Regions from separate parts of the Homo sapiens genome. Here regions 2, 3, 4, 5, 6 and 7 are each linked to region 1. The links are contacts of gene promoters, found by promoter capture Hi-C in blood cells and fetal thymus (Javierre and others, 2016). All regions are on one chromosome and are shown on one strand. The core of a region is centred on a gene start or on the middle of the fragment in contact, and the rest is flanking DNA. Distances in the headings are between cores, read along the strand shown. Region 1 holds the start of SUPT3H (SPT3 homolog, SAGA and STAGA complex component). Region 2 has its middle 180 kb from the start of CLIC5. Region 3 overlaps SUPT3H (SPT3 homolog, SAGA and STAGA complex component). Region 4 overlaps SUPT3H (SPT3 homolog, SAGA and STAGA complex component). Region 5 overlaps SUPT3H (SPT3 homolog, SAGA and STAGA complex component). Region 6 has its middle 140 kb from the start of RUNX2-AS1. Region 7 overlaps SUPT3H (SPT3 homolog, SAGA and STAGA complex component).

Evidence for each region. The method cuts DNA at HindIII sites, captures the fragments that hold promoters and counts their contacts. A CHiCAGO score of 5 or more calls a contact.
Region 2: a contact is called between a fragment that was not itself captured here and the fragment with the promoter of SUPT3H in region 1, in 1 of 17 cell types (total B cells). The highest score is 6.2, in total B cells.
Region 3: a contact is called between a fragment that was not itself captured here and the fragment with the promoter of SUPT3H in region 1, in 2 of 17 cell types (total CD4 T cells and activated CD4 T cells). The highest score is 5.7, in total CD4 T cells.
Region 4: a contact is called between a fragment that was not itself captured here and the fragment with the promoter of SUPT3H in region 1, in 4 of 17 cell types (naive CD4 T cells, total CD4 T cells, non-activated CD4 T cells and 1 more). The highest score is 9.8, in naive CD4 T cells.
Region 5: a fragment that was not itself captured here is called in contact with the fragment with the promoter of SUPT3H in region 1 in 3 of 17 cell types (naive CD8 T cells, total CD8 T cells and naive CD4 T cells); the score reaches 5.8 in naive CD8 T cells.
Region 6: a contact is called between a fragment that was not itself captured here and the fragment with the promoter of SUPT3H in region 1, in 1 of 17 cell types (M0 macrophages). The highest score is 5.1, in M0 macrophages.
Region 7: a contact is called between a fragment that was not itself captured here and the fragment with the promoter of SUPT3H in region 1, in 1 of 17 cell types (endothelial precursors). The highest score is 5.7, in endothelial precursors.

What each region holds. Positions count from the first base shown.
Region 1 is chr6:45,376,429-45,379,380 of GRCh38, reverse strand. It overlaps SUPT3H (SPT3 homolog, SAGA and STAGA complex component), which reads left to right and starts at 1,447. Exons shown (of 11, transcript NM_003599.4): 1 at 1,447-1,613. All of the region lies in intron 2 of RUNX2 (RUNX family transcription factor 2), which reads right to left. RefSeq lists silencers at 1,156-1,205, 1,526-1,805 and an enhancer at 972-1,515. The HindIII fragment of the contact is 7,128 bases long and covers 1,026-2,952 here.
Region 2 is chr6:45,830,105-45,833,056 of GRCh38, reverse strand. No RefSeq gene overlaps it. Among named protein-coding and RNA genes, the nearest start is that of CLIC5, 180 kb to the left of the region's middle. The HindIII fragment of the contact is 207 bases long and covers 1,346-1,552 here.
Region 3 is chr6:44,951,004-44,953,955 of GRCh38, reverse strand. It overlaps SUPT3H (SPT3 homolog, SAGA and STAGA complex component), which reads left to right. Exons shown (of 11, transcript NM_003599.4): 9 at 539-646. Among named protein-coding and RNA genes, the nearest start is that of MIR586, 250 kb to the left of the region's middle. The HindIII fragment of the contact is 865 bases long and covers 1,095-1,959 here.
Region 4 is chr6:44,979,601-44,982,552 of GRCh38, reverse strand. The region is part of intron 6 of SUPT3H (SPT3 homolog, SAGA and STAGA complex component); the gene reads left to right. Among named protein-coding and RNA genes, the nearest start is that of MIR586, 220 kb to the left of the region's middle. The HindIII fragment of the contact is 7,750 bases long and covers 1-2,952 here.
Region 5 is chr6:44,999,402-45,002,353 of GRCh38, reverse strand. All of the region lies in intron 6 of SUPT3H (SPT3 homolog, SAGA and STAGA complex component), which reads left to right. Among named protein-coding and RNA genes, the nearest start is that of MIR586, 200 kb to the left of the region's middle. The HindIII fragment of the contact is 418 bases long and covers 1,275-1,692 here.
Region 6 is chr6:45,713,018-45,715,969 of GRCh38, reverse strand. No RefSeq gene overlaps it. Among named protein-coding and RNA genes, the nearest start is that of RUNX2-AS1, 140 kb to the right of the region's middle. RefSeq lists a silencer at 944-1,238. The HindIII fragment of the contact is 6,734 bases long and covers 1-2,952 here.
Region 7 is chr6:45,086,267-45,089,218 of GRCh38, reverse strand. All of the region lies in intron 3 of SUPT3H (SPT3 homolog, SAGA and STAGA complex component), which reads left to right. Among named protein-coding and RNA genes, the nearest start is that of MIR586, 110 kb to the left of the region's middle. The HindIII fragment of the contact is 786 bases long and covers 1,157-1,942 here.

The DNA.
Region 1 (2,952 bases), core at 198-2,697:
CTTAATCTTCTGTTAACTAATTTCTTGGTAATGTACTCAAAAGAGCTTTCAACCAGTCTTCCCATGTAAGAAGTTATCACCATACTCACTCTGTTACTTTCCCTTATACTGCACACTTTGCTCAGCAATGAATTGATCCCTGATTTACACATCAAGCTGAGCTCTCACATCCTAAATATATCTATTCTTTTGGAATTTTAGGTATTTGGCAAATATTGAAGCGTTGGGGAGATTAAAGAGAATCAAACACAACACTAGCAGACTCAACTACAATCCACAGAGGAAATAACCAAATAAGTTGCTATTTTAAACAATTTAAGCAAATAGAAGGAAGGGATTTCAGAACTCACAGTATCTATAGGCAAGAAAATAACTGAAGCAGTGATGCTTAAAAAGACTTGGTGAGGGTTAATACTTGAATCCCTATAAAATACAGTATTTTATAGTATTTGACAACACAGGTGTGAAGGTGAGCATGGATAACCAGTTTTCTTCTCTAAGCAGGCAATAAGAATGTTAAATATAAATAAGACTTCATATAATATAAAGAGTGAAAGACTGAAAGCATTGTCTTACGACTACTGTATTATTTAAAGAACTACATCTATATCAATTAAATGTGGCAGGACAGAATGTACAGTACAATACTGGGGGTGCAAGATTTTAAAATGAGGAACAGGCCAAAATCTAAACACAGAATCGTCCAAAAAAAAAAAAAAGCCTTCAAGTAGAAAAAGTTTTCAATAACAAAACATGGTAGTTAAACGCCTGCGTCTAGTAACATGAGTTGGGGAAAAAACATTAATAGCAGATTAATGAAACAGATTCTGTGCGAGGTCAGGGTAGGGAGTGATGGCGCGCGGAAGCGGCGTAAGAGCTGGTTTCGCCGTCCCAGAAAGGGTTCCACATCCACACGCCTGTACTGCGGCCCTGCGGGGAGCGTTCAGACCCCTCCGTTTCCCTTCACCATTGTAAACGCGCAATCCCATTAAGATCCCGTTCACTCCAATTCCTGGAAAGAAGCTTAGAACGGTGAATCTCTTCCTCGGAGTTGAAAATCAACTTCCAGTGCCGGTCACCCAATCCTTCAAAAATCCTAGCCCTCTCGGGCCCAATTCCTAAAGAATTCAAGCCTGCACCCTGTACACCCTGACCGATCTCAGCTCGTCCCCACTCCGCTCCCAGCGTCCCCAGCTCTAAACGCCGCCGCGTGGCTCAGCGCTGCCCAAGCCGGGCCCTGAAGGCCGCGCACAACGCCCCGCCCCCGGCGAGCGTGGCGGAAGTAGCTCGCTCGGGCTGGGAGAGCGCGCGCCACCTGGCCAAGCGCGCATGCGCCCGCACTGCCAGTGCGGGGGGCGTCCGTATCGCTTACTCCTCAGTCTCCGCAACCCCCGCCCCACCGAGAGTCGGGCTCACGCCATCTTGTACCCCCCCCATCGCCCCGTCACACAGCCGAGTCACCTTTTCCCTTTCTACACTCCACACTCTCAGTCCCCCACCCCGCCCCTTTCCAAGCGTGTCCCGGGCCGCAGCAGCAGAAACCGCACCATCTCCACCCCCACATTCTCCTCGCGGGAAGCGCAGCAGTGCCTCCAAGGGTTCTTAAAGCAGAGGTTGTAGGGCTTGCGGGGGGCGGTGCGGGGATTCGGGCGGGGGAGACGTCAGAGAGCCGGGAGGGACGCAGAGCGGAGATCCCAGCGTCGCTGGGCCCCCGCGCCGGCCACGCCCTGGCCCCGGCTCGAGGGCGGCTGCCTGGGTCTTCGTGGTCTACGCCGGAGTGTTGAAGGGAGGGCGGCTGTGGGAGGCGCTGGCCGGGCGCAGCGCCCTGGTTCCGCTGCCGAGCGTGGAGTTGCCTCTCGACTCCTCCCTTTTGGCGGGTGGGCGTGGGGTGAGGGGGGCTGGGCTGTGCTGAGAAGCGGGGTGCGCGGGTCGTCTAGGTAGTGTGGGGGCTGCCGGAGGAATCATTAAAGAGGGAAATTGTTGCTTTATGGCACGGCGAGAGAAGAGTTAGGTAGTTAGTGGGAGTGTAGCATCCAGAAAGAGGAAAAGATCCGCTGTGTTCTCTGTGGGGTGAGCTCACGTCTGTGACCCCTGGGGAAATTATTTAGCTTGTCTTTGCCTTGTTTTGGTCTGTAAAATGGCGATCTTATAGCCTATTTCAGAATTGTGAGGATTATATGAGAAAATACACGTTAAACGCTTAGAACAGCGCCAGGTGCTGCTCAGTACATATTAGCTCTGCTTTTGCTCTCCACGTTTTAGGAGTTCAGAATGACTGTGACCTTATTTTCTCAGAGAATCAGGACACTTGGTCTCACACGTGAGAGTGAAGTTATGAAGACAGTGATATGTAATATTTGACACTCAGACGATCCTGGACGTAGTATTACTGTACACGTGGATAAATTAGCATTTCTCCAAGAGGCTAATAGAAATGTTAAGTTATTTCGGTAGAAAGAAATGTGTGTGTATATATATGTATATACATATGTGTGTATATAAGTATATGTATGTGTATATATGTATGTATGTATTTGGAAGGAGAGGACCTGGGGTCTTAGTATATGTGAAGGGCAGACTCTGGAAGAGGAATTAAATTCGCCCTGCAAAGATTTACTTGAAGGACAAAACTTGGGGAATTTCTGGTGAATGTTTCAAAGAGGCTGAATTTGCCTATGAGAAACAGTTCGTGAGAGTACTTTGCAAGAATGGAATGCTCTTCATTGTGCTATGGAAAGTTTCTTATCTCAGGATATTCGGGACGTTGGAGCGAAGTATGCCTAAGTCTAGGGCTGCACTTTTCACTAGCAGTTTCTGCCTTGATGGAGATGTTCCATAATCTGTGCCTTTAGGCACTAGTGGTAGCCTAGGCACAGTGGCTCTTCAGCACTTGAAATGTGATAAGTGTCACTGAGGAACTTAATTTTTAATTTTATTCATAAATTAATAAAT
Region 2 (2,952 bases), core at 200-2,699, 450 kb before region 1:
ACAACCCAAAACCTTCTGCTTTTGGATGCAGACTGACTAGGGTTGGAATGCTCAAGTGACTGCTGTGAACCTTGAGCAGCTCACTGTTCATCTTTGAAAATAGGGAGAATACAACTACTACCCCTCCCTGGGTTACGCTAATCACATAGCACAGGGCCTGGTACAAAACAGGCCCTCAAAAATGTCAGTTTCAGCCAGGCGTAGTGGCTCATGCCTATAATTCCAGCATGTTGAGAAGCCAAGGTGGCTTGAGCCCAGGAATTCGAGACCAGCCTAGACAACCTGGAGAAATCCCATCTCTACTAAAAGTAGAAAAATTAGCTGGGCATAGTGGCACAGGCCTGTAGTCCCAGCTACTTGGGAGGCTGAAGTGGGTGGATGGTTTGAGTCTGGGTGATCAAGGCTGCAGTAATCAGAGATCTTGCTACTGCACTCCAGACTGGGAAACAGAGCGAGACCCTGTCTCAAAAAAACAAAACAAAAAACAAACAAACAAAAACTGTCAGTTTCCTCTCTTTATGTTTAGTTTTAAACCCATCCAAAATTTGGAACATTAATATCATTTGTTGATCAGGTTGTCTTTCTTCTCATTTCATGTGATGTATCACGAATTCCGACTAAATTTAAAGCAATTCATTCTCGGCCATATCAAAGGATTTGTCACAACTTAGCGAGGTAGAAAATGTCAAGTTTAAAACATGTGGCAGGAAGATGTGACTTCATGGACACACACAATCAATGGTCCAAGTAGGTGAGTGTTTGTGGTTGTGGGGTGAGGGGTACTGGGAAGGGTTTTACTTTCAGTTCCCTGAATACCTGTTTCCCACTCACCACACTGAGAGGTCACCCTTAGAGTCACTCCTTTGCACCTGGAAGAATTGTGGATCTCCCTGGTTCCCTGTGAAAAAGTCTAAGTGTCCCCAGGCATAGAAAAAGCAGCTGTACAGCTTAGAGAACAGTATACTGGGACTAGACCACTGGAGAACGGCCTGGGAACAGATAGGGGAGGAGAAAGAGGGAGGAAAACAGAGAAGCACTGAAGGAGAAGGCACCAGGGACAAGGGACAATTCCCCCAGATCCACGGCTTTCTTCTGCTTGTTATAACCCATGAGAAGCAGAACATCCTCCCAAAGACACTGCATCATTGGCACACAGTATATGCTAGGTTGGCACTCTACTAATGCTTCACGGCATTTGCACATTTAATTATCACAACAATCCCATCAGGTTGTCACTATTATTCTTCCCATTTTACAGCTTAAGAAACTGAGACACAGAGAGGCTAAGTGTCATATCCAAGTCACAGGGCTGTGTGATAGAGCCTGGAAATGAGCCCAAGAAGCTTGACTCCAATGTCAAACTCTGCACCACCACATTAGAAACACACTCCCCACGCAGAAACACACACACACACACACACACACACACACACACACACACTGTGGGAGGACTCTCAGGGAACTCCTGCTTTCACAGACTGCTAGGTGCCAAGTTCTGCTTTTTAGAGCCAGTGAGATAAGGAGAACTTGCTCTATTTCATGTAAGAAAGCTTATCTGTTACTAACATAGTAGATTTATCCTCTGTCAATCCAGAAGAAAGAACTAGACCTGAAGGGTGGAGCTTGTAGGAAGAAGACAGTAGTTCAACATAAGCAGTATAAAAAGAAGGGCTGCTGTGATAGGTAATGAGCTACCAGTCAGTGGACGTGTTTTTGGTTTGGCAGCTGCAGTCTAGGAATGAGCAGATGGTCTACATCCTGGGGACGAGATTGGAAGAGATGAGAACCAAAGCCCCTCCCAGCCCAGGCAGTCAATCTGAACACACTTCTCCAGACCTGCTGTTGCAAAGCAGTGTGCCGAATCAACAGGAGATGCATGTTAAATAAAACCCGACCCAGCCTCTCAAAAGTTTACAGTGAGATTCTCAGGTTTTCCAATATCATCTTCATAGAGTTCCTGGAGGAATTTAAGAAAGTACAGTGAAGATTCATTCCTTTCATCTCCTAAGGGTAAGTCCGTTCTGACCTGCCCAATAACCCTTTCTCTTCTCTGTCTGCTTCCGGAGAGCACTGTGAGAAGTCAGTCTTCTTTAAAAAAAAAAAAAAAAAAAAGTAAGAAAGAAAAAAAGAAAGACACATATATGATATGTTCTACATCTTTGCCTCTGAAGAGGAAATGCTCTGTGTTACTGTAAATAATAATTTGCAGGTCAGTGAAGGTTGTTAAATGCCCCTGATACCTTTTCTCACTTCCCTCCAGACTCTCGTAATTACTATTGCTCTGAACCCAGCGGGCAAGATGCACATTTCTCTGTCCAGGAAATGACAGCAGCAGTGTGGTACCCTCTTCTCACTTCGGGGAAAGACTGTGTATCTGCATATTGAGCCTGTCCAGAGTCCGTGTCAGAGCCGGGTATGTGCCTGCCTGGAAATAGCTGCATGGAAATGCAGGAAGTGGTTGCCCAAAAGACCTGAGGCTGCAGGTCATAGCCCCTGGGTTCTAAAGCTGGCTCTACCACAAGCTGCGTGACCTCAGACAAGTCACAAAATCTTCTGGGACTCTGTTTCTTCATCCGTAAAGCCAAGAACACAGCACTTACCATGACTCATAAATACTAATATATAATGAGAACTCATTCTTTTATTCAATATCTCATTCAAACACATATGAATCATCACTAAGGACCAGGCACTGTTTTAGTCCCCGGGGGTGCAGTAGTAAACAAAACAGCGAAAGTCTCCCTCTCCCTGGAGTTCCACTGGGAGAAGCAGATAAATAAATGAATAAACAAAACATATGGGATTTCTAAGGGCTTTGGCAAAAAGCAAAGCCTAGAAGGGTTAGGAGGAGTGCTGAGGAAAAAAAAGGGGTGTCTCTAAGAGGGTGCCATTGAGATATAGGCTCAAAGGAGGTAAGAAGGTGAGCTGAGAGATCACTGGGGAAAGAGTAAT
Region 3 (2,952 bases), core at 278-2,777, 430 kb after region 1:
GACCAGCTTGGCCAATATGGTGAAACCACATCTCTACTAATAATACCAAAAAAAAGTTAGCCGGGCATGGTGGCGGGCACCTGTAGTCCCAGCTACTCAGGAAGGCTGAGGCAGGAGAATCATTTGAACCTAGGAGGCCGAGGTTGCAGTGAGCTGAGGTCGCACCATTGCACTCCAGCCTGGGCAACAAGAGCGAAACTCCATTTCAAAAATTAATAAAATAAAATAAAATAAGCAAATTCCTAGACTATATGCTTAAAACAGACCTACTGAATTAGAATCTCTGGACTTAAAGCCCAGAAATTTGCACTAGTGACTGTGAAATAAATTTTGAGAACTACTCTCCTAAAAAGTCAGAATATATCATGACTAGGTCCATTCACCAGTCAATGAAAGTGTGTGCTCATGTCTACAATATAGATTTTTAGGCAAGCAGGATTATCAGTAACATTCAGAATGTATTGCTTTTAGGTTTGCCACTTCAGTGGCATTCATGATTATTTCTAGCTATGTGACTTTCATTCTTCTGGTCTTCTAGTTAGTGGATCTGGCTCTTCTTGTGAGGCAAGACATGGTAACCAAGGCAGGGGACCCCTTCAGCCATGCCATTTCTGCAACCTTCATTCAGTATCACAACTCTGCTGAGGTAAGTACAAAAAAAATCTGTCTTAAAACATTTGTGAATTTTGACACATATCTGGTATTTACATTAGTGATTCTTTAATAAAGATTATGCAGGAGTGTATAACCTTCAGTCAAAGAATCTTAATACATTAGACATTCAAATAAGTATTTAATTGAGCACCTACTGTGTGCCAGGCCCTGACAGTCCACTTAAGACAATGACTTTTTTCACGTTTTTCTTGCTTCACTTAGCTTTCCTACCCCTTCATTGAAAGGGATAGTTGCAAGGCATTTCTTATTTTTATGGGAGATGAAAAACTGGTTTAGGTAATGTTGGAAAAGTCATTTATTTCTTTGTGCTTCAAAAGATAAGAGGGTTATCATTATTATTCACAAAATAATCCCTGGCATTTATTGATAACTTTCCATTTCAGTTATTGATTCATCTCTAAAAATGATTTAAAGAAGCTTGTCTTCATTCATCTTGAGTTTTTAGATTGCCCCTACTATGTGAAAATTATATTCTTTTCTGATCTGGCTTTGCTATGGGAACCGTAAAGTTTTCTTTCCAATTTTAAGGCTCTGTATAATAACTGTGCACCACTTTTAGTATACAGAATCTCCTCTGTAAACAGCATCTACCTCAAAACCAGAAATGTATTGCAGTGTCTTGAATGTATTTGCCAATATTCGACCCTTTTCACTAACAAAAACAGCAGTTTCACGTAATTCAATCGAATATCCATAGATAAGACAGCAAGAAGGTTAAGTTCGCATCTACATGTAGAGTTGTGAAGTACGTTTTGGATCAAGTTGGTTGAAATATATAACCTGAAAATGGCTAAGCTCTGTTTTATAGCCATACCTTGATTACACATTTCTACTCCTTGTTAAATATCTATAGGCAAGGATAGTGGTTCAAATCATTTCTAAGAAGTAGTTGTAATCTTCTTTAGGTCACACACCCCTTTGAGAATCTGATGAAAACTATAAACCCTTTTTCTATAAACACATTCACAAATTTTGCCTACAGTTTCAGATTGTTCAGAGACATTCTGAAGCCATTCTATGGATCCAAGGGATCTGTGAACCCTATGGACCCTAGGTTTAAATTTCTCTGCTCTAGGATACATAGAAAATATGTTAACATATATGCCCATATAGCATCTTATTACAAACAAAAGGACAATTCAACATTTTCTTATGCCCCTTGGAAAATCAAATTGGCTTGGAAACCAAATAGGGATTAAAATGTTTATGCCCATTAAAAATCCATTTTTTTCTTAGAAAAGGTCATACATCATTATCAGTCAACATACAAAAGTCCCTAAAGCTTACTTAGTTGATTAATCACTATTTGTTTTCTTTATGTTACAAACCCAAATTATGATGTCAAAAAACCCCCTTTAAAATGTCTTTGATGTTTGTTCACTTTATGAATATGTGTATAAGTATGCTTTCCATTAACATCAGACAAATTTGTTATAACATTTCTAATTGAGAAAATTTACTGTGAACACAACGGGCCTAGTTTTCTTTTAACATTCAAGTGATTGCTTGCATGCCTAGGAAAACTCTTTATTTCCCCTCTTTTCTTGGTTCTCCAGGGTGGCCAAGCTGCCCTAGGCAACTGCTCAGCAACCGCAGCCGCTGTTCCCAGCTACCCAGCAGTTGAGAGGAATATCCTATATGTGCTGGATTTCCTGGGCTCTCTGGGAGGTGGGAGCATGAGTGTCAGAGAGCCTCCTGACAAAATATGTTAGTATAAGCCTCAAACTTTTTTCTGGCTGGCAGACACCCCTCCCCTCCTGTGACTGGTAGTCAAGATGAATATTCAGAGACTGGAAGTCTTCCTTCCTGCCCTTTATCACTTGACAAAATCAGCAGCTAACATCAAGGGCCTGTACATCAAATACTATACCAAATTGAGTCCAAAGTGGGACTCTGGAGACTGATGTGATCTCTGTTCAGGGAGACAGGATATTTTGTAAAACAAATAAGCAAATAATTGAACAAACAGTTTAAGATGGCATATACTGGTTTCCAAATGAGTGACTCAGACAGAAAATACAGAAGTTTAAAAAAAAAAAAAAAAACCTTCTCTAGTTGCAGTCAAAGACTTTAGAGAGAAAGCTAAGGTTAAAAGAAAAATAGGACTATGATAAGGTAGAAGTTAGGATAATACTCTAGGACTCAAAGACAGCATAAGTACCATTTTAGAAGGAGAAAAACCCAACGCTGTTTAAAATATTCAAGGATTAAGGTTCATTAAAGAGGAATAGTAGGCATTTGGATTAGAAAATTAAGGCTCAGATTATATAGAGTCTT
Region 4 (2,952 bases), core at 214-2,713, 400 kb after region 1:
GGCTTCTTCCAGTGACATTTCTTCTATATAAAGAATCGGGCTGGGCATGGTGGCTCACGCCTGTAATCCCAGCGCTTCAGGAGGCCAGGAGATTGAGGTCAGGAGATGGAGGCCATCCTGGCTAACACGGTGAAACACTGTCTCTACTAAAAATACAAAAAATTAGCCAGACGTGGTGGCGGGCACTTGTAGTCCCAGCTACTCGGGAGGCTGAGGCAGGAAAATGGTGTGAACCCAGGAGGCAGAGCTTGCAGTGAGCTGATATTGTGCCACAGCACTCCAGCCTGGGCGACAGAGCGAGACTCCATCTCAAAAAAAAAGCCTGGGTGACAGAGTGAGACTGTCTCAAACAAACAAACAAACAAACAAAAAGAATCATTGCAAACAGCTTGAAATTTTCTCAGTGTGGATTTGGCCAGGTTGTCTTATCTCTTAAATCTTAGAACTATGAAATATTTCTTTGCTTTTTAAATTTCTTTTTCTTTTCTTTTGTTTTGCTTTGCTTTGTTTTAGACACAGGATCTCACTCTGTTGACCAGGCTGGAGCACAATAGTGAGATCATTGCTCACTGCAGTGTCAAACTCCTGTGCTCAAGCGATCCTCCCACTTTAGCCTCCCCAGTAGCTGGGACTACAGGCACGCACCATGGTCCCTAGCTAGTTTTGCTTTTTTTTTTTTTTTTCATGTCATGTAGAGATGGAGTTTCACCTCCCAAAGTGCTGAGATTACAGGCATGAGCTACCATGCCCAGCCAAAATGTTTCTAAGGCTTTCAGGAGTTCCCTGAGATAAGAGAATACACGTAGAACCACAGAATCTCAGAGCTATATTAAAGAAGAGAGAACTCAGTCACAGTGAGATGAAGCAACTTAACCTAGAGAGTCCCATCTTGTGTTAGAGGTAAAACTGAGACCTAGAGTCCAGATCTTCTGATTCCCAGGTAAACATTCCTATTACCACTCACGCTAATCTTTTTCTAATGGTATAAAATGTTTCTCAATATTATAGAAGAATATTTCAAAATATTTGGGTTATGATTAAAACTCATTTGCCACTGAGTTACAACACTTAAGCACTGTTGATATACAGAATGTATTGGGATTGGGTTGGAATCGTATTTACCCTATGATGTACCCAGTCCATTCCTTTTCAAATATATCTTAAATGTCATTTGCTTTATTCATATCTCTCTCATCAAAATAAAACGACAAAAATGTAATTTCATGCTTTTTGTTAACAAGTGAAGCAATATTTTCCAGGTATATGACTTCTTCATTAAAATCCATCCTTCATTTATTTATACCCAGCTCTGCAAATATTCTCTGTTACTTTCAAGTTCCTTGTTCTTGGAATCACTTTACCCCTCATATCCTGTAGTGTATTTCTCCCTAAGATGAAGTTTGAGATGGATAGCAGCTATAGCTGGGCTTCCAGTAAAGAGTTAGAGTAGAACATGTCAGTAGCAGTGATCCATCCCACCAGCTGGCATTTACGCAAAACGGCAAAGCATTTAAGTAGGCATTGGAGTGAATCATTTGTCAAACCCCTTTTCCTGTCACTTGCCTTCCTTGAGGAGTTGTTATGCTAACTCTAAGGTATGAATAGATTAAATGCCACTAAATCTACTTCTTCAGACGTGCGCTTCTTAATCTTTTTGGAATTAGGACAGTTATTAGACATGGTTATTTGACTTAACTTTGCCTTCTCCTTATCCTCTGAAAGTACTCTAGTGAAGTTTAAAGCTACATAAATTGCATTTAAAAAAATGTTTGTAAGTGATGTGAAGGAAGAGAATCCTCATTCTTAAACTTATTAGAGGTTCCTATGACTGCTAAAAATCAGTTCTGGAAATGATTATGATGGGTCACATAGATGTAATGAATTTTTAACCTCAGTCATATACCACCATGTAGACACAACTACTTGCCACTCAGTATCCATGTTCTCCTTCCTTTGTAACAAAACTGATTTGTAGCTGGGTATTTTAACATCTAGACCAAACAAGAAGAAAGAAAGAAAATCTGCATTTCTCTTACCCTCAGCCACGTTTGGTCACACGACTGAGTTGTGGCCAATGAAATGTAAGCATTCTATGGGAATCCTTAGTACAATAAGCCCTCACGTAACATCATTGTACAGCAGGCCCTCAACTTCCTTTCCTTCACTGTCATTTTGTTATAACATTGATGAGGGACAAAGAAAAAAATGATTTTGTTATATGTTGTTTCACATAAATTTTCAGTTTCCGAGAACTTATCAATGAGATGAAGTGAGGACTTACTGTCATTTTTTCTTTTTTTTTTTTTTAGAGAAAGGGTACACTCCCTACCCTTTCTGCATTTGTCTATTTTATGCAGATTCAAGGCTGGAGCTTTAGAAGCCAAGACATTCTGAATCACAAAATGTCAGAGCAGATACTGGAGGAGATTGAGGCCCTGGAGACTTCAGTCAGTGTTTGTGTAAAGCCTGAATACCTATCTCCAGAATTCATTTATGTGAGGAAAAATAAACTTTGATCTTGCCTAAGCAACTATAATTTTGGCTTATATATGTAGCCAGAAATAATCTTAACTAATAAAACGTGAATGAGCCCCCTGGATTGATAAGAACGTACTTCAAGAAAATAATTAGTGTCTTAAGGTAGACCTGGTCTACTATAAAAATTGTTTTAGTTAACAGTTTGGTAAATGGAAAGAACTTAATAATTCCAATCTGTTTGACAGTAATTGCGTTCTGTTTTACCTGATGCTTGAAGAAATCCAGGTTATCTCATAGTCTTATTTCTAATTTGTGCCAATGAAATGAACTCGTAAGTTCATAAGATGTAAAACGAACTTTTTTTGTCCCATGTCATGAGAGCAGATAATTCTTGGCTGTCACACAAACTCATCACCTTTTAATGGGTCAAGGAGGCTGTAGAGATTACTCATCCTAGCTTTTGTGTGGGCTTTC
Region 5 (2,952 bases), core at 234-2,733, 380 kb after region 1:
CCTGTTACCTAAAAGGGCATTCCACAATCAAGAAGAGAAGAAATGGAACATTTTGTAGCTCTATAATAGCAGGCTACTGTAGACCTAGAAAACTGGGGGTCAGCAGGGTACTAAAGTCAATAAAATATCTGGAGATGCAGGGTAGAAAAAGCTTGGGTACTTATGCAGTCTGTACACTTCTTCTTTATAGTTATGTATTACATACTGGTAACCAGGATAATAAAATATCAGAAGTTGATAAAACTAGTTACAGTGAAAATCTTCATATGTACAAATAAACATGAGACTGGCAACTTCGTTAAGCTTTGTATCATAACAAAAATCTTCTCTGGCCAACATAACAGAGTAGCTTTTATATTCTACTCATCCAAATAACAGTTTAACTGAAAAAAATATGCTGGGCTTGTAGACATAACTTAACTGTAGACAGTAGAAAGTGGAACTGTTAAGAGCATAGGCCTTGCCTGCTTCTAATTTGATAGGTTATAGTTTCAAGAGTTAACCACAACTGTGGCAGTTCATATGAAACCACTTTGGACTCAGAGACTGCAATCTCTTGCTTTTAAAGTTCAGTAGAATAATCAGTCCTGGCATCATTCAATGACTTAACTTTCCTCCAAGCATCACTTATGGTTGCAGAAACTTTGTTTACTACCTTCTCCCCTAGCATGTATGAAAATGGTATAGACCTACCAACAGGCTTAATTTTAGTTTTCTTTCTTCTTTATAGATATAAAAACTCACTTGGTATTCTAGCTTCTTCTCAAAACATTGAGCAAACATACAAAAAACAGCCTGAGTTCTTTCCTATTGTTTTCAGCTGATGTATGTGTGCTTGGCTTTAGTTTCATCCATAATTTACTTCATTACTATTAGTTTATGTGACTTGAAATATAAAAAAATCTGAATTTTTACATCCATTTTGCCTTACTAGTTCATCATCGTGATAGTTAGCTAACTCTTACACATTTATTTTTCTCTAGCACCAGATTCTAGCACTTGGGCATACCTATAGTAGAGATCCATGATCTCAGAACATCCTTTTAAATGATCAAATAAAGATTAAATAATGCTCAGAGTTGCTTTAGTGTATTTGAGGGACTGAGAAAGAAGAGCAGGGAAATACATACAACTATAGCTTCCCTCCAACCCCACCCACCTCCATCCTAAAATAAGGCAGGTGTGTCTAAGTGTAGCTAATGTTTCTTTCATTCTAATTTTTTCATCTAATCAAATATTGTCAACCAAAGACCAAAATACAGTCACTGAAAGCTTCAAATAGCTTTGAGTTTTCTTGTCAGTGAGGAACTGTGGTCACCCACAGAAGAGCTGTGCCTAAGAACCTGCTTTGCTGCTTGTAGAGGAACCTGAGAAGCTCAAGTTTGTCAATAATCAAGTAAACTATCTAGTCTTGTAAGCCCCTAAGTTTGTAAAGAGATGTAAACAATGGGTGCTTAAAAAGTTGAGAGAACTCTACCTTCAGAGTAATCCTCAAATTGATAAAAGTAAACAAGAGAGCAAGGATTAGAGCTTACCAGAGAGAGCAGCTTTTAAACAGTTTGGGGTGCAGAAAATCCCTAGTGACTTTTTATCTTGTGTTTTCATATCAGAGGCTTAATAGTGGAATCTAGAGAGAAAGCAGAGTGATATACATAACATTTAAGGCAGCTTAAAATTTGTTGATAATAAGCTTTAAATTAAATAAGGTGCCAGGTAGTCATCTGAATTTGCTTAACCTGAAATGAACTGACCATAGATTTGAAAACATATAGTTTCTCATAAAGACTGAATAATAAGAGAAATCAGATATATCATTCAGTTGTGCCCAAGTGTGGCATGGTTATGATGCCTGGAGATTTTGAGTCCCAGGGTTATGGTTTTTGGAGGTAAGTGGACTAGAAAACTCATTGAAGAAGAAATAGGTGGATGCCTGTAGAAGTTGTCCATCTCCTGTTTTTGAAGTCTTTCTACCATTCCCATTTCTACCTATCATGATTTATTTCAGTTATAAGGAAAAGGAAAATAAAATGTCTGTAAAGCTAACAGTCCAAAAATATCTTACATAATACTTAACATAAAAGAAAAAGGCTAATCCCAGTAAGATAAACATTCACAAATACCAGAAAAGTTTAAAAAGTTGAGTTAAAAACTGAAACTCTTAAATATGTTATAATATATGGGACTGTGAAATAAAGATAGAATTATATACTACAAAGATATATGTAGTTTACATATGTACATAATAAATACATGTATGTATATATCTGTGTATATACATTTATATGTGTATATACATTTACATATGCAAATTCATGTACATACATGTATACACTATGCCCATATATACATATATAGAAATAGAAATGTAATTTTTCTAGATTATTTAAAAGGTAAAAGTTAAAGAACAATCAGAGGTATATCATACAAACCCTGTAATACTGGGGGTTACAGTATTAATTTCAGAGAAAAGAGAATTTAAGGAGAGAAGCTTTAAAATGGAATAAAGGCAATAATTTTATGTTACTAAAAGATACACCTATAGTGAAAATATAGTAGGTGCAAACTGTTAATCATCAAATTCCAGAGCATTGAAAGCTTCTAGTATGTGGAGAGAGGTCAGAGAAAAACATTTGTTGTGGAGACTAGAACACACCATCCCCATCTTTGACTGATTAATTCAAGGGAAAAAAAAGACTTTAATAAATATCTAAGTTTATCTAATAGATGCATATATAATGTTTTATAAATGAGCAATAGTCTTAAAATCGTACAACTCCAAGGATTCCATGGGTCTCTTCAGGGAAGAGAGAAGAGGTTTGGTGGGGCTGTAGCCTCCATCTGCCCTCACACCTTCAACCAGCACATGTTCAATTATATGTAATGGCTGTACATATCATCAGTGAAGAAAGTGATTCACTGTTTTTTAAAATCGAAAATCGTTACAAAACACCA
Region 6 (2,952 bases), core at 219-2,718, 340 kb before region 1:
TGCTCCAGCACTGCTTGTACAAGCTGTTCTGCCACATCCCAGGTTCTGTCCTCTGCTCGCAGCCCTGCCAATTATCAAGCAGCACCTAATAAGAAAACTACTGTCTCATTGGCCAAGTGATGTATATATGTCAACAAGTCTTTCCTAGAACTGTCCTGTCCATCAAGTAGCCACTAGACACATGTAACTATTTAAATTTAAATTAATTACAATTAAATACAATTCAAAATTCAGTTCCTCAGTCACCCTAGCCACATTTCAAGGACTCAGAAGTCACATGTGGCTGGTGGCTACATATTAGACAGTGCAGACATGGCTCATTTCCACCATTGTGGAAATTTCTACTGGGCAGACTGCTGTAGATGCACTTGACTCTAATAGGGAAGGCCCCAGCCCTGTGACTGGGGAAGACATGAAGGTGCTTCTCATGGTATCAGGCTCCCTGCCTGGACTTATGGTCTATGGATCACCAATGACCTGGGGCCAGACCATTTCTGACCCCATTCCCTGGGGTCAGTTGCAACTGCAGTAAGTCCACCCAGGTCAGAGAAGGAGATCTTGCAAGAGAAACAATCAGAAGGATCACCTTCTCCTTAGACAAGCCCTGTGGTTTCCATGACCAGAAACCACGTTCAAGGTTCAATCACTCTGAATATACATGTCACTCTGTCACATGAGAAAGAGCACTAAAGGGGAGTCGGGAGAGGTGGGGTTCCAGCATAAGTGTTGCCTTTTACCAGCTGTGTGCCTCCAGCAAGGCCCCCCTCTCTGGCCCTCAATCCCACACTAGGTAAACAACCCAATCTTCTGGAGTCCTAAAATTCCACACTGACCCCATCATCATTTCATTCCTCTCTCTCTGGTGTCTTATCTTTCTTGGATGTGTGTGCATTTACAGAATGTTTCATCTTAATCAAGGAAATAATAGAGAAGGGAGGGGAAATTGCCTTGGCGACTCCAAAGTGTGTGTTAACATAGAGAAAGAGCTCTGAAAACCTTCTAGGGCAGCAGAGGCTGTAAGGGTGCTGTTTTCCATGCAAGAATCCAGTAGAGGGGGATGTTGCATAGAGGCGAATTCCTAACAGCCTTTGCCTTCAGCTTGTCATTGTTAGTGCCCAAGCTCAGAGGGGAGGAAATGTCTTTTTCGTCCTTGCGGGACCTCACATCTACTCTCTGTGTACCAGGACTCAATAAGTCTCTAAAAGCCTCTGGATGGACACAGGAAAGCCGCTGGTGTTCTTTCTGTGCATTTAACCCTAATGAATTTTCCCTTCCCATTTCCAAATTACAAAATCAAAGCTATTTTCTCAGGTGCCATATTTAGCAGCTGTCAGAAGTTGGAATCTGGCAAGATCAACAACTTTTGAATAGCTCAAAATTCGCTAAAGTCCCAGATGGGTTTTCCCCTTCTCTGCCCTCCCGCTCCCTTCTCAGAGCCAGCTTTCAGAGTCCACCTCGGGCGCCTGAGACCCAAGCAGTGTGCCTCTTTCAGTAAAGCATGGTTTTAAGGAAATAAAAACACATTTCCCTTTCACATGCCTCATTGCCTTATTTTCCCTCTCATTTTGACAAAATGGGGCTCTGCAGTCCTCCTCCTCAGATGAAGGCTGATTAGCAGCCACGGTCACTAATCTCTCACCATCTTCTTCTAAAAATGAGACTCACCCAGCCTCAGCACAACAACTAAGAGCAAAAGGTTCATCGGAATTTCCAACTCCTGTGATTTCTCCCTTTGGTTCTTCAGAGATAACGGTGAGAGTGAAAGATGTAGAGATGAGAGTAAGACACGCAGAGAAGCCCTGGCTATGAGCGCCCATAGTGGGCGTGGGGCAGCAGCCCTTGAAACTTCACAGTGAGATTCCACAGAAGGGATCTTTCCCTTGTAAATGTCCCACTTACGGCTTAAAGTTCAAGAAGGTAGGCCTGGATCCAGCCTCACCAGCCTGACCCTATGCCAGGCTTTCTGCAGCACTGGGAGGGAAGGGTGGAGAATGCTGAAGACAGAGATCTCCGGCAGTCACACCTTTCATGGAAAACAGAGACACCTGTCTTGATAGGTGAAGCTGTGGATGGTGGCTCAGCTGCTGTCTCAAAGAAAATGTCTGTGATAGGTGGAGGGAGATTTTGTTCCCCAAGGTTGGTTCTCCAAGCTGAATAGACAAAGGTGCAAGAAACAGGGAAATTCTCAAGCAAAATAAGTTGTATTTGCCGGAAAGTCTATCTGAGTGAGAATTCTCAAAATATTTTCTAAAGCTCCGAACTGTTTGGAGAACGTAGCCACAGTATATACAGAAATAAATGCCCCATTTTCATTAGAAGAGCCTGTGTGTATAAAGGGACGCATCCAGGCTTTGGGGCCAGACATTGGTTCAAATCCCAACCCTGTCACCTTCTACTCAGATAACCTCAGACAAGTCACCTAGAACCACTGAACCTCCGTTTTCTCATCTCTAAAATGTAATGGCACCTACTTTTACAGACTTATTGCAAGGAATAAATAAGATAATCTATGTAAAAGCACTCAGGGACCAGGTGAGGTGGCTCACCCCTATAATCCCAGCACTTTGGGTGGCCAAGGTGGGCAGATTACCTGAGGTCAGGAGTTCAAGACCAGCCTGGCTAACATTATGAAACCCCGTCTTTACTAAAAATACAAAAATTAGCCGGGCATGATGGCGGGTGCCTGTGATCCCAGCTACTCGGGAGGCTGAGGTGGAAGAATCACTTGAACCTGGGAGGCGGAGGTTGCAGTGAGCCGAGATCGCGCCACTGCACTCCAGCCTGGGTGACAGAACGAGACTCCATCTCAGAAAAAAAAGCAAGCACTCAGCACCATGCCTGGCATATAGTCAGCACTCGCCAGATGTTAACTGCTATCATTACATTGCTAATAAAATAATACCACAACATTCTTCTGAGTGTAGAGGTACAGACATACAAGAAAATCCTCTC
Region 7 (2,952 bases), core at 300-2,799, 290 kb after region 1:
TGAATGGGATGTTTTTAAAAACCTATATATTTTTACTTTTGTTTTAAGGTGGACTAAAGGAAAATGTTATAGGCTACTCTTGGCAAGCATTTTGCCATAAAATTTTCTGATATGGATAAACAAAAAGCTAAATTGTGTATACTTGCTACTATATTTTCCATTCATATGATATTTTGAAGTCCATATCTCAATGTACTGAATTCTACTTTCCTTCAGATGAATACATCTTATTCTGGTAAAGAAAGATATCAAATTTACAAAGTTAGTGTAATTGTTATATATTATTTTGTTTTAGCTTCAACTACTTATGCTTACTACCTGTAAACAATAGTTCAGTATGGGTATAAATTAAATTCCATATCACAGAGAATAAATGAATTTAAAATCATATAACAATCAAATCTACCATGACAGCTGTCAGTATTGATCTGAGTGAGAAACTGATAGAAATACTGAGTTGTTAGTACATTTATATGTACTAACTTGGTATATTCTCATTTGGTAATCACTGTTCTAGATGTGACTCCCCTGATCCCTGATTACTTTTGCAAAACCCACAGGGTTCGTGAGCCATGAGTTGGTAAATGCTTGTAGACTGGAATGTTTTTGGAGACAAACATTGCTGGATTTGAATCTTGGCTTCATAACTTGCCAGTTATACAGTCTTGAGCATATTCCTTAATCCAAGTCCTCATTTAGTCATCTCTTGGAATTTACCTACATCATAGGCATTATATAAGATAATGTGTGTAAATGACCTAACACTGGTCTACATTATTTGCCAATGGGAACAGGATTAATGGCAGCCAAAAAATTTTTTGACATTTGGAGTAACAGAGTGTCAAAGGCAAAGACACTAAGAGGCAGAAAGAGCGCTCGAAGATTCATAGCATGCAGTATTTCTGAGGCCACCCTTCTGCTTTAGCATGTCATGCCTTATACAGTTTTGTCACTATTTCTCCTACCTCTACTTTTTATTGCCAATATTCTTAGATACCTCAACATTCTTAAAACCCAGTTTAGATAATTTATTAAACATGAGTTTCCTTGTTCCTTTCTTGTCAGTTCCCGTCTGATTTTATGTCCCTGAGAAGAAACCTGCAGACGCAGAATGATCTAAATTTAATTCATTTCAATCCTGGAGACTTAGGAAGCTTTTCCATTAATTTTATGCCTTCTCGTTTTATCTCTATAATTGGAATAGAACTTAACTATCATTGAAATAAGAAACAGCATTGACTGAAAGCACTTATTTTTATCCAGCAAATCCTTGAATATTCTCCTAAATGATCTTCGAGTCCTAAGATATTGTATTTTAGTGGCGACTTCTATGTTTAGTTTTGTTTCTTTTTCAAACTTGATGGTTTTCAGAATATTGTGTGAAGAAATTTCCCAACATTCTTGAAAAATACATGATTTCATAAGTACATAGTAATGTGGAGTTTGAGGGAGGTGAAACAGAGAAATGGATAAATAGGTAGATGAAACAGAGAGCTCAAGCCCCCAAACTTGACCAGTGTGCTAAAATGAGTATAGATTTCTTATATTATTATTATTAGGTGTAAATTAAGTAATACTATGAATGTGTTTGTAAATTGTAAAGTGCCTTTTCATAAAACTAGGGACACTGTTTTGATGTTGACATTTCCTTTTATTATTATTGCTAATAATAATCTTTTTAAAACTTGTGTTTTAAAAGCATTTACCCTCAAAAGTCTATAGAGAAAACTCTTTATCTGAAATATTGGTAAAGTTATTAGATGATATTTTTAGTATAAATGATAGCATTTATACTTTAGAAAAATTCTAGGTACTAAAATTTTAAGAGAAGCAATTGTACTTCCTAAGTTCGTGTGCCCTTTCCTTGTGAATTGACCCTTTAAACATTTTAACTTTTAATAACTTGAAATTTATGTGGGAAACTTCTGTTTGGGGAAAAGCTTAAAATTCAGTATCATTTATTAATCATCCAGCATTATTATTTTGAAAAATAACCAACGAAAATAATGCAGTATAGTAGTTCTGCACTTTAACACTTCAAAATATGTATTCCTAAAAGTAGAATTTTCTTCAAAATATATATTCTTAAAAGTAAAAATTTGCTATGCTTTATGTAGCCAAGGTTACAAAAGACTTGTAACTTCTAATAATTAGCTTAATCTGATTTTAAACTCTTGATGGTTTTGGAACAGAAATTTTTGTTTGAAAGAAAGATTGGCTTGTTAACCGAATTATGTAATTATAAGTAAATGTGGTCACAGCTGCTTTTGATTTTATTGTTATACACCTGATTGGAAACAACAGGTTTTTAAAAATATTTTTCCGTTTCTTACACTGACACCTAGTGTTCACTATTACTGATATCTTAAATATTAAATTTTATTTATTAATAATTATGGAAATAGATTTACGTTCAACATATTTTAGCCGTGTACCTATTCACAGATAAATAACTCTCATTTTCAGTACCAGTGATGCACAGTTTTTCTGGTTACTCCTGTGACATCATTATGAACCAATTGCTGAGGCCATTTTGAATGCAACAAAACTCTAAGAAGCCTAGAGTTTTAGAGATGGAAGAATTGCTGGAGGGAGTTTTTAAAACCAAGATTCTTAAAATCCCAGTGCTTTGTTATGTACATAAGTACTTCAAGCTACGTGTCTAAGTGGCTGATTTAGTTTATGTATGCTTAGTCTCTGTGTCATAGAACAAAATCACATTTAGTCATGCAAGCATTATAAATTTAAAATTCTTGGTTGACCAGGAATGGAGCATGATTGAGTTATTTCTAATTTTCAAAAAGGGAGACTTGGTGATATTATATGTTTACCATTTCCTATGAGTTCCTAAGGATGATTTTAATGCCCCAGATTTCCTAGTAATAAGGTTTAAAGGTGTCGATTAATATCCGATTTTACACAACTAGGTGAAACTGTATATATAATTCGGAG